Regions from separate parts of the Homo sapiens genome. Here all the other regions are linked to region 2. The links are contacts of gene promoters, found by promoter capture Hi-C in human tissues and cell types (Jung and others, 2019). All regions are on one chromosome and are shown on one strand. Each heading gives the region's core, a stretch centred on a gene start or on the middle of the fragment in contact. The rest is flanking DNA. Distances are from core to core; before and after follow the strand shown. Region 1 holds the start of ZNF560 (zinc finger protein 560). Region 2 holds the start of OR7D4 (olfactory receptor family 7 subfamily D member 4). Region 3 overlaps ZNF121 (zinc finger protein 121).

Evidence for each region. The method cuts DNA at HindIII sites, captures the fragments that hold promoters and counts their contacts. A contact is called where the count stands out against the background at its distance.
Region 1: a contact is called between the fragment with the promoter of ZNF560 here and the fragment with the promoter of OR7D4 in region 2, in 3 of the 25 tissues and cell types used here (lymphoblastoid cells, mesendoderm cells and spleen).
Region 3: a fragment that was not itself captured here is called in contact with the fragment with the promoter of OR7D4 in region 2 in 1 of the 25 tissues and cell types used here (adrenal gland).

The regions. Positions count from the first base shown.
Region 1 is chr19:9,496,958-9,500,254 of GRCh38, reverse strand. It overlaps ZNF560 (zinc finger protein 560), which reads left to right and starts at 1,639. Exons shown (of 10, transcript NM_152476.3): 1 at 1,639-1,717; 2 at 2,040-2,127. The HindIII fragment of the contact is 15,358 bases long and covers 1-3,297 here.
Region 2 is chr19:9,218,280-9,221,543 of GRCh38, reverse strand. OR7D4 (olfactory receptor family 7 subfamily D member 4) reads left to right here and starts at 1,955. Exons shown (of 2, transcript NM_001005191.3): 1 at 1,955-2,344. It also overlaps a transcript of OR7E24 not described here. The HindIII fragment of the contact is 21,358 bases long and covers 542-3,264 here.
Region 3 is chr19:9,579,058-9,582,536 of GRCh38, reverse strand. The region is part of intron 1 of ZNF121 (zinc finger protein 121); the gene reads left to right. Among named protein-coding and RNA genes, the nearest start is that of ZNF121, 3.7 kb to the left of the region's middle. RefSeq lists enhancers at 1-81, 82-895. The HindIII fragment of the contact is 5,310 bases long and covers 1-3,479 here.

The DNA.
Region 1 (3,297 bases), core at 390-2,889, 280 kb before region 2:
AACCACCACGCCTGGCTAATTTTTTGTATCTTTAGTAGAGACGGGGTTTCACCATGTTGGTCAGGCTGGTCTTGAACTCCTGACCTCAGGTGATCCACCCACCTCGGCCTCCCAAAATGTTGGGATTACAGGAGTGAGCCACCGTGCCCAGCCTCTACAGGAAATTCTAGCCAGAGCAATTACACAAGAAAATAAAATAAAAGGTTTCTCAATTAGAATAGAACAAATAAAAATATATTTATAGGTGATATTTGATATATAGAGAATTTTGAAGAATCTACAAGAAAACTAGCAGAGCTTGTAATAAATTCCGTAAAGTTGCACAGTACAACATCAAGAGATGAAAATTAGTTTTGTATCTATACACCAGCAATGAACAATCAGAAAAGGAAACTGAGAATGTGATCCCTTTTACAAATAAGTTACATGGGAATAACTTTACCCCAAGAGGTAAAATATTTGTAAACTGAAAATTTCAAAACATTACTGAAAGAGTTTAAAGAAGACCTAAATAGAGAGATATTGTATATTCACACATAGGAAGACTCAGTATTATAAAGATACCAATATAACCCGAAGATTCAACTAAATCTCTACCACAAGTCCAACAGTCCTTTCTTTTTCTGCACAGAATAAGTGAAGAATGCCTGGTATCAGTGTTATTTCATAAAGTAGTACAGGAGGCTTTGAATCATTTGATAAGATTTGAGAAATAGTAACAAATACATTGTTGAAGAAGAAAAAAAAATACAATAAGGCCAGGCATGGTGCATGATGGCTCACGCCTGTAATCCCACTTCGGGAGTGCAGGGCGGGCAGATCACTTGAGCCCAGGAGTTCCAGACCAGCCTGGGCAACATGGTTAGATCCTGTCTCTACAAAATAATAATAATGATGATAATAATAATAATACAAAAATTAGCCGGGTGCGGTGCGCCCGTGGTCCCAGCTACTCGGGAGGCTGAGGTGGAAGGATGGCTTGAGCCTGGAGAGGTGGAGACTGCAGTGAGCCGTGTTCCTACCACTGCATTCCAGCCTTGGCAACCGAGCCAGACCCTACCTCGAAGAAAAAAAGAAAAGAAAAGAAAAAAGAAAGAAAAGAAAAAAATTGCAATATTTACAGAAAGTATCGATAACTGAAAACGCAGAGGAATCAATGATTAGAGTTTAGCAAGGTCAGATAAATAAAAAGAAATAAGAGAAAATAAAGTTCTAAAGACGTGATCGAATGCAGGAAGCAGGCCATTTTGTGGATTGGCAGGTTATCAACTGGAGAGAATCCTGAAAGGGGTCCAGGAACGTGGGGAAAGTTTCTAATGAGCATCCTGAGGGGCGAGTCCATCGCCCGACGTTTCGCCTTCCTGGTCCATTCTGCCACCGAAGCCACCGGCTGGGTCTGGTCCCACCTCCAGCCCCGCCCCCGGGCATGGGCCCCGCCCACAGCCCTGATTTAACCCCCACCTTTCTCTGTGGGTCCATTTCTCTCTTGCCCACCCAGGCACTGAGCCGACCCCTTGATACCTCCGCACCCACGCGGAGGGAAACTAGAATCCTGAAGAGTTCCATCCTGTCCAACTGCCCACACAACGAGCCACGCCCCTTCCAATGCCCCAAACGGAAGTGACGTTGCGGCGCGCCAGTTCTCTCTTTTGGTCGCTGGCGCCTGTTTCCTCAGAGCCACTTTTTCCTTTGTGTTGTCTGGTCGTTCACTACTTTGGTGAGGCTCGTGTGGACTAGTGGGTTGGGCGGTGTTTCGGGGGGTGGCAGAGGTCACAATCGACCCAGGGTAATCGAGGAACCTCCTTACAGAGGCCTGGACCACTCCACAGGAGTCCGCAGGAGTCGCGGAGCCATCGGGTGAGGCCACGTCGAAGAGGCCATTGGGACCTTCGGTCCCCTAGAGGAGCCGGGTGGGAAGTGCAGTATGGGCGCGTCCGAGGGCTGTTTTCAGCCGTGTGTTCCCGTCTTCAAAAGTGTCCAAGCGTTCTGAGGCCTTAAAAAATAAGTCTCCAAGGCAACGTTTGTGAATTGTGTTTCAGAGGGAAAAGAATTTTGCCGTTCGCGTTCGATTGACTCCGTCCCCAAGATCCTGTAGCCCCACGGACCTGGCGACTCCACCGTGTTCGGGTGAGCATTGGGAAAAAGTTGGTTTAAGGGGGCAGCTGCTTCCTTTTTTATGCAAACGAGTGTTTCATGTGAGATTTTGGCATTTTGCCTTTGTGAAACCTGTATATTTTTTATTGACACATTACGTTCCGGTAGAAAGGTGCTTTCTTAGTTGTCTAGGGTGTGCGTATTTCTGCATGTGCATATAAACGTTTGTAGACCGCGAGTCTTTCTACTAAAGAAACCTAAGAATACTCAGCCATTCTTTTCATCTGAAGTTCCTAGCTCTGTACGTCTCCAAAGAGCTTCATAACCAGGCTTCCTGGAAGAAAGGATGGAGGGTTTACACACTAATACTAGAATAATCGAATTTACCATTAACAGGATGACTGTACTAAGTGTATTTTTCCCGCATTTTTTTTCGAAAAAACTTAAACCTATGGGTATGTTGACCATCCAGTACCACGAATAAATATCCATTGTAGCTGCACCTGTTTTTTAGCGTTTTGTGTATTCGCCGTCTCGTAAATAAATTTTATGGTGAACAGTTTGAGAGTCAATGGGAAATTCATTGCAGAGATGAAGCTCGACATTTTTTTTTTTTTTTTTTTTTTGAGAGGGGGTCTAGCTGTGTCGCCCAGGCTGGAGTGCAGTGGCGCGATCTCGCCTCACTGCAACCTCTGCCTCCCGGGTTCAAGCGATTCTCCTGCCTCAGCTTCCCAAGTGGCTGTAATTACAGGGGTGTGCCACCGTGCCCGGATAATTTTTTGTATTTTTGTAGAGATGGGGTTTCACCGTGATAGCCAGGATGGTAAGCTCGACATTTAAGTAGTGGGTAATGCCTGACTCAATGATAAGAGTGTTGTTTTACTAAAACCGTAATACTATTTGCATCAAGAAAATTAAAAATAATAATGTTATCTAATATTTACTATGTATAATAAATGAAAATTCTCCAAATTCTTCTAAAATATAACGGAATGTTTTTGGATCTGAGCTCTATTCAAGATTTTTTTTTTTTGAGAGTTTTTTTGAGGCAGGATGTTGCCTTGTTGCCCAGGCTGGAGTGCGGTGGCATGATATTGGCTCACTGCAACCACCGCTTACCACGCCCAACTTTGTGTTTCTGTGCCTGGTTTATTTCACTTAACGTACTGTCCTCCAGTTCTATCTACGTTGTTGAAAATGACA
Region 2 (3,264 bases), core at 706-3,205:
CCCGTCTCTACTAAAAATACAAAAAAGTAGCCGGGCGTCGTGGCAGGCGCCTGTAATCCCAGCTACTCGGGAGGCTGAGGCAGGAGAATGGCGTAAACCCGGGAGGCGGAGCTTGCAGCGAGCGGAGATCGCGCCACTGCATTCCAGCCTGGGTGACAGAGCGAGACTCCGTCTCAAAAAAAAAAAAAAAAAAAAAAAAAAAAGGGCAAAAGACCTGAAAGACATTTGTCAAAAGAAGACACACAGATGGACAACATACATTTTTTTTTTCTTGAGACGAGTCTCGCTCTGTCACCCAGGCTGGAGTGCAGTGGCGCGATCTCGGCTCACTGCAAGCTCCCCCTCCCGGGTTGAAGTCATTCTCCTGCCTCAGCCTCCCAAGTAGCTGGGACTACAGGCGCCCGCCACCACGCCCGGCTAATTTTTTGTATTTTTAGTAGGGACGGGGTTTCACCTTTAGCCAGGATGGTCTCGATCGCCTGACCCTGTGATCCGCCCGTCTAGGCCTCCCAAAGTGCTGGGATTACAGGCGTGAGCCACTGCGCCCGGCCCAACATACATTTTTAAAAGGTTTAACTTCACTAATCATCAGGGAAATGCAAATGAAAACCACAATGAGATATCACCTCACTTCATCTCAAATGGCTATTACTAAAAAGACAAAAGATAGTAAGTGCTGGCCAGGATATGAAGAAATGGAAACCCTTCTACACTGTTGGTAGGAATGTAAATTAGTACAACCATTATGGAAAAGAGTATGGAGGTTCCTCAAAAACTTAAAAATAGAACTACCATATGATCCAGCAGTCCACTACTGGGTATATATCAATAAGAAACGAAGTCAGTGTGTGGAAGGGATATCGCACTCCCATGTTTATTGGAGCATTATTCACAGTAGCCAAGACACAGAATCAACCTAGTTGTCTGCAAATAAATGAATGGATAAAGAAAATGTAGTATATATACACAATGGAATATGATTCATCCATAAAACACAAGGAAATCCTGTCATTTGCAACATGGATGAACTCAGAGAACATTGTGTTAAGTGAAATAAGGGAGGCACAGAAAGACAAATATCACATGATCTCACTCATATGTGGAATCTAACGAAGGTGATCTCAGAGAAATAGAATCCAGATTTCAAAGAAGTAGAATGTTGGTTACCAGACCCAGAGTGGTTTGGGGTTGAGGAGTAGTGTTGGTGTTGTGGAGATGTTAGTAAAAGAATACAAAATTACAGCTATATAAGAGAAGTAAGTTCAAGAGATCTATTGTACAGCAGGATGACTTTAGTTAATGATGATATATATGATATTCTTTGAAAATGCTAAGAGAGTGGATATTAAGTGTTCTCACCAGGATAACGACTCTGTGAGATAATGCGTATGTTAATTAGATACATTGAATGTCCACAATGTATATATATTTCCAAATATCAAGTTGTACATGATACATACATATAATTCTATAATTTAAAAAAATATATAAAAATAATTTGAAAAAATATTTAAAAAGAAAAGACATTTTTGTTTCCATGAATTTTCAACACCGAGGGATCCATAAAATCTCCAAAGACTCTTCAAGGGAGTCACATCGCTTGGAGATGATTCCTGAGTTTAGTTCCTTGCAGAAATTAATCTTTCCTTAGGGCAAAACTTGTGACTTTCAAATTAAACCGAAGAAAGAATTTCTTCTTGGGGGAAATAAATCCATCATGCCCTACCACTGCCTATTTCATCACAAAATTAACTGAAAAATTTCCATTCTATCATCTTCTTACTACTCAAAGGGAGCCAAACTCTTTGGAGAGTGGGAAGAAAATAGAACAATTTATTTAATAAGGTGCTCTGAGAATTCAACTCTTGAGACACTGGAAACTTAAAATGTGCCCCTGTTTAAACAACCTCACCTGTAATTCTCTGCTCCCAGCCTTTGGAAAAAACCCAGTACGGCTTCCTAGGAACAGATCGTGTAGAAGAGAAAACTTCAGTGATAACCATCAGAGTTAGTGTGACCCAGTGAGGGCTGGTGGGGTAAGAAGGAAAAGAGGAGAGAGAATAAGTACTAGCCTTCACAGTAATGAGCCTGGAAAGTCCCATACTTATTGAGTCTATGAAGGTGAAGTCCCTGTACTTTGATGGTACTTTAGTTTTCACAGAAACCAGTGTCTCCCACCTTCTGTTCTCACTCCTTGGAATCCAGGGCCCGTCTTTAATAAGTTATTTTCCGAACAGTCTCTAACTCTCCTGCACTCTTTCCTATAAACTTTAGTCTCCTGTTGAATTTCGTACATCCAGTTACTTATTCATTAACTACTCACGGAAGATCTACTATGCTCAAGGTATTGTCTATGTGTTCCTAATGTGATTGGATTTTTCTATTATATTCTATATTTTTCCTGGCAGATTATTGGTTACCAGACCCAGAGTGGTCTGGGGATTGGGGGTAGGGTTGATGTGGTGGAGATGGTGACTTATTTACAGCACTTACTAGCTGTTATGTTTTTGCTATTTCAACTTAGTATCCATGATATCATATAGAAATAATACAATTATTTCTGACATTCAACATGCAGTCCAATTTTTTTTCTCATATTAAAAATCCCTTGGCTGAACGTAGTGGCTCACATCTATAATCCCAGCACTTTGGGAGGCCGAGGCGGGCAGATCACTTGAGGCCAGGACCCTGAGACCAGCCTGGCTAACATGGCAAAACCCTGTCTCTACTAAACAATAACAAAAAAAGAAAGCCTGACACCTTAGCTTACACCTGCAATCCCAGTTACTCGGGAGACTGAGATGGGATAATTGCTTGAACCCAGGAGGCAGAGGTTGCAGTAAGCTGAGACTGCACCCCGCACTCCAGCCCAGGTGACAAAGTGACACCATGTCCCCCCCAAAAAAAAATCCATTTGCATGTTCACCAAAATATCAAAAGATTGAAATTGTAGTAGACGGCCTTTGGTGTATCCAGGAATTTAAACCCCTTACTGTTTTAACATAGCATATCTTGTTGCCTGTGGTATTAAAACAACCATTGTTTATCGGGTTAAGCAATTGTCCTTGGTTTCTTCCTTTATTGAGAGGATCTGCCCTGGTTGATAATCTTTTTCAAATGCATTTTTTCTATTGTGATTTTGTTTATGATTTCTCTTTACTGACCTGTTTTTGTGATGAATTATGCAGACATTCTTACATTAAACCTGCTTCCATTGTTAGAGCTGGTATTACTACTTCATTTATCATTATTTTAAAAGAGATA
Region 3 (3,479 bases), core at 547-3,046, 360 kb before region 2:
GGGAGATAGGGGTCGGGCAGTTTTATAGGATTTGGGTAGATAGTGGAAAATTACAGTTAAAGGAGGTTGTTCTCTTGCGGGCAGGGGCGGGGATCACAAGGTGCTCAGTGGGGAGCTCCTGAGATTCATTGTCCAGGAGAAGGAATGTCACAAGGTCAATTGATCAGTTAGGTTGGGGCAGGAACAAATCACAATGGTGGAATGTCATCAGTTAAGGCAGGAACTAGCTATTTTCGCTTCTTCTTGTTGTTCTTCAGTTGCTTCAGGCCATCTGGATGTATACGTGCAGGTCACAGGGAGTCTGATGGCTTGGCTTCGGCTCAGAGGCCTGACACCTAGTAGCTGGGACACAGGCACATGCCGCCATGCCCAGCTAATTTTTTTTTGTATTTTAGTAGAGACAAGGTTTCACCATGTTGGCCAGGCTGGTCTCGAAATCCTGAGCTCAGGCAGTTCACCTGCTTCGGCCTCCCAAAATGCTGGGATTACAGGTGTGAGCCACTGTGCCTGAACACTTACTTTTTGAGCATTGTGCTTGTTTTCTTTCACCTCAGGTAAATACATTTTATGGTGAACAATTTGAGTGTAAATTGAGCATAATTGCACACGTGATACTTGACCTTTAAATACTTGGTAATGCATCGCCTAAAAAAATAGCACTGTCATTCTGAAACCACAATACTAGTATTTCACTTAAATAAAAAATAATAATGTCATCTAATGTCTGCTTTTTATAATAACTAAAATTCTCCGCATTGATTCAACGTATGCTCTTGGATGTTTTTGGGTTTAAGATCCATTCAAGATTTTTACATTGCAATTGTTAATGTTTTCAGTGTCTTTTTACCTAGAACAGTTATTATTGTATATTATATTGACTTTTGGAGAGTCACACTGTGGGATATGAGGATATGATGAGGTTTCTCTTCAAATAATCTCATCAATCTTTTATTCTCTAATTCATAGTACCCCCCCTTTTTCTCCTTTTTTCTCCTTTTTGCCTTTGTTAGATGCCCAGGCATGCCACAGTACAAAGCGTTATCAGTACCAGCTCACATACCTTTCCTTACTTAGAAAGAGGACTTTCTAGCTCACTACAGACATCCCTTCCCCTTCCTCTCCACTTTTCTTCTACGTGCCCACCCTATCTAAAAAAAATCAGGTGTTTCACCAACCGGGATTAGTTTAGATTGTACGACCTGACCCCGGCCAATAGGGAAAGGGTACAGGGGCAGGACTTGCATCAGGAGTAAAGGCTCTCATGCCCCTTTGTTCAGGTGTGCTCTCATGGCAACTGGTCAAGGAGGCACCCCTCTGCACAGAAGTAAAATTGCTTTGCTAAGAATCCTTTGTTCGAGTGTTCAATTTCCTTAGGATTTTGAGCGTTATTCCTAACACTCATTCTCTTAGAAAGTCATACAATCAGATATTTCTGATTGGATTCTCATGGTGTGTGTAAATATTCCTTTATTTCATGCGATTTCCTACAAACTCGGGGTTTTTGGCCTAAAGGAGAAGCTGACAACCTTTGTTTGATAAGGGCTGACAGTATGTACTTCGTGCTTTGGGGACCAGAAAGTCTCAAATTACTCAGATCTGCCTTAGTTACTTCATGTCCCATGATTAGTTGTTCATTCTCTATCGCATGGTAGTGGCAAACCACAACCTGTTTCTCAAAAGAGAAACAGTTAATCTGCACAAGAGGGCATGGATTGACTATGGAATACCAGAGGCCTCTACTCTACATCTTCTGTTGGTGTATGCCAGAGGCTTCCAATAAATAGGATGCCATTTAACATGGACACGTTGAGTATCATTGGGTCTGCTGGATCAGGTGGACCAAGTGCTTGGGAAGCCTGCAGTGCAGCCTGAAATTGCTCTTGTCTACAGTTGAAACTAGAATCCTTACAGGCAACTGTGTGGGGCGTTAAAGCACATACAAATGTATATGTTGCCTCCAAAATTCAAGAGGTTTACGGGTGGTAGCTCTATTGACAGTTCTATTTTTAGTTTTTTGAGAAACCCCCATACTGAGTTTTTTTTTTTTTCTTTTTTGAGTCTTGCTGGATCACCCAGGCTGGAGGGCAATGGCATAATCATGGCTCATTGCTCGTTTTTAGTGGTAGGTGGTATTAGGTGAAGTAACTTGGAGGGACATCTTGCAGGGAATGTCTTTTTGTAGGGAATGTCTTTACATGATCCAGACAAGGGAATATCTATCTTTTTTTTTTTCTTTTTTTCTTTTTGAGACTAGTTTTTCTCTGTCACCCAGGCTGGAGTGCAGTGGCACAAACTGGGCTTACTGCAAACTCTGCCTCCCGAGTTCACGCCATTCTCCTGCCTCAGCCTCCTGAGTAGCTGGGACTACAGGTGCCCGCCAACACGCCCGGCTAATTTTTTGTATTTTTAGTATTGACGAGGTTTCACCGTGTTAGCCAGGATGGTCTCAATCTCCTGACGTCGTGATCCGCCCGTCTCAGCCTCCCAAAGTGCTGGGATAACAGGTGTGAGCCACCCGCGCCTGGCTGACAAGGGAATATCTTTACCCACAGACATGGTGGCCCCAGAATCTCCCACCCTCTATTTGAAAATTCAAAAAAAGTTTTTTGATTCATAATAGACGTACATGTTTTCTGAGTACATGTGATAATTTGATGCATTTATATTATCAAATCAGGGTAAGTAGAATATCTGTCACCTTAAATATTTATCCTTTCTTTATTGCAGGAAAATCAAGTTATTCTCTTAGCTGTTTTGAAATGTACAATAGATGAGTGTTAAATGTAGTCACCCTACTGATCTATTGAACACTAGTTCTTATTTCTTCTAACTGTGTATTTTACCCATGAATCAACCTCTCTTTTTTTTCTAGAGACGGAGTCTCACTGTTGCCCAGGCTGGAATGCAGTGGCATGATCTCGGCTCACTGTAACCTCCACCTCCTGGGTTCAAGTGATTCTCCTGCCTGGGACTACAGGCGCACGCCACAATTCCCAGCTAATTTTTGTATTTTCAGTAGAGATGGAGTTTCGCCATGTTGGCCAGGCTGGTCTCGAACTCCTGACCTCAAGTGATTCACCTGCCTTGGGCTCCTAAAGAGCTGGGATTACAGGCATGAGCCACTGTGACTGACAGGTTTTATGTGTGCATATGTGTGCAGACAGGTCTTCCTGTGTTGTCCAGGCTGGCTCGAACTTCTGGGCTCAAGTGATCCTCCCACCACAGCCTCAAGTTTTGGGATTACAGGCATGAGCCACTACACCTGAGTATTGTTCTCTATAGTGGCTGTACTAATTTACATTCCCATCAACTGCATACAAGGATTATCTTTTCACCACATCCTCATCAGTATTTGTTATTCCCTGTCTATAAAAGCCACCCTATGAGGTGAGATGACATCTCATTGTGGTAATGTGTGATTTGTATTTCTTTGATGTTTAGCCATGTTGAGCATTTTTTCCGTATACCTGTTGGCCATT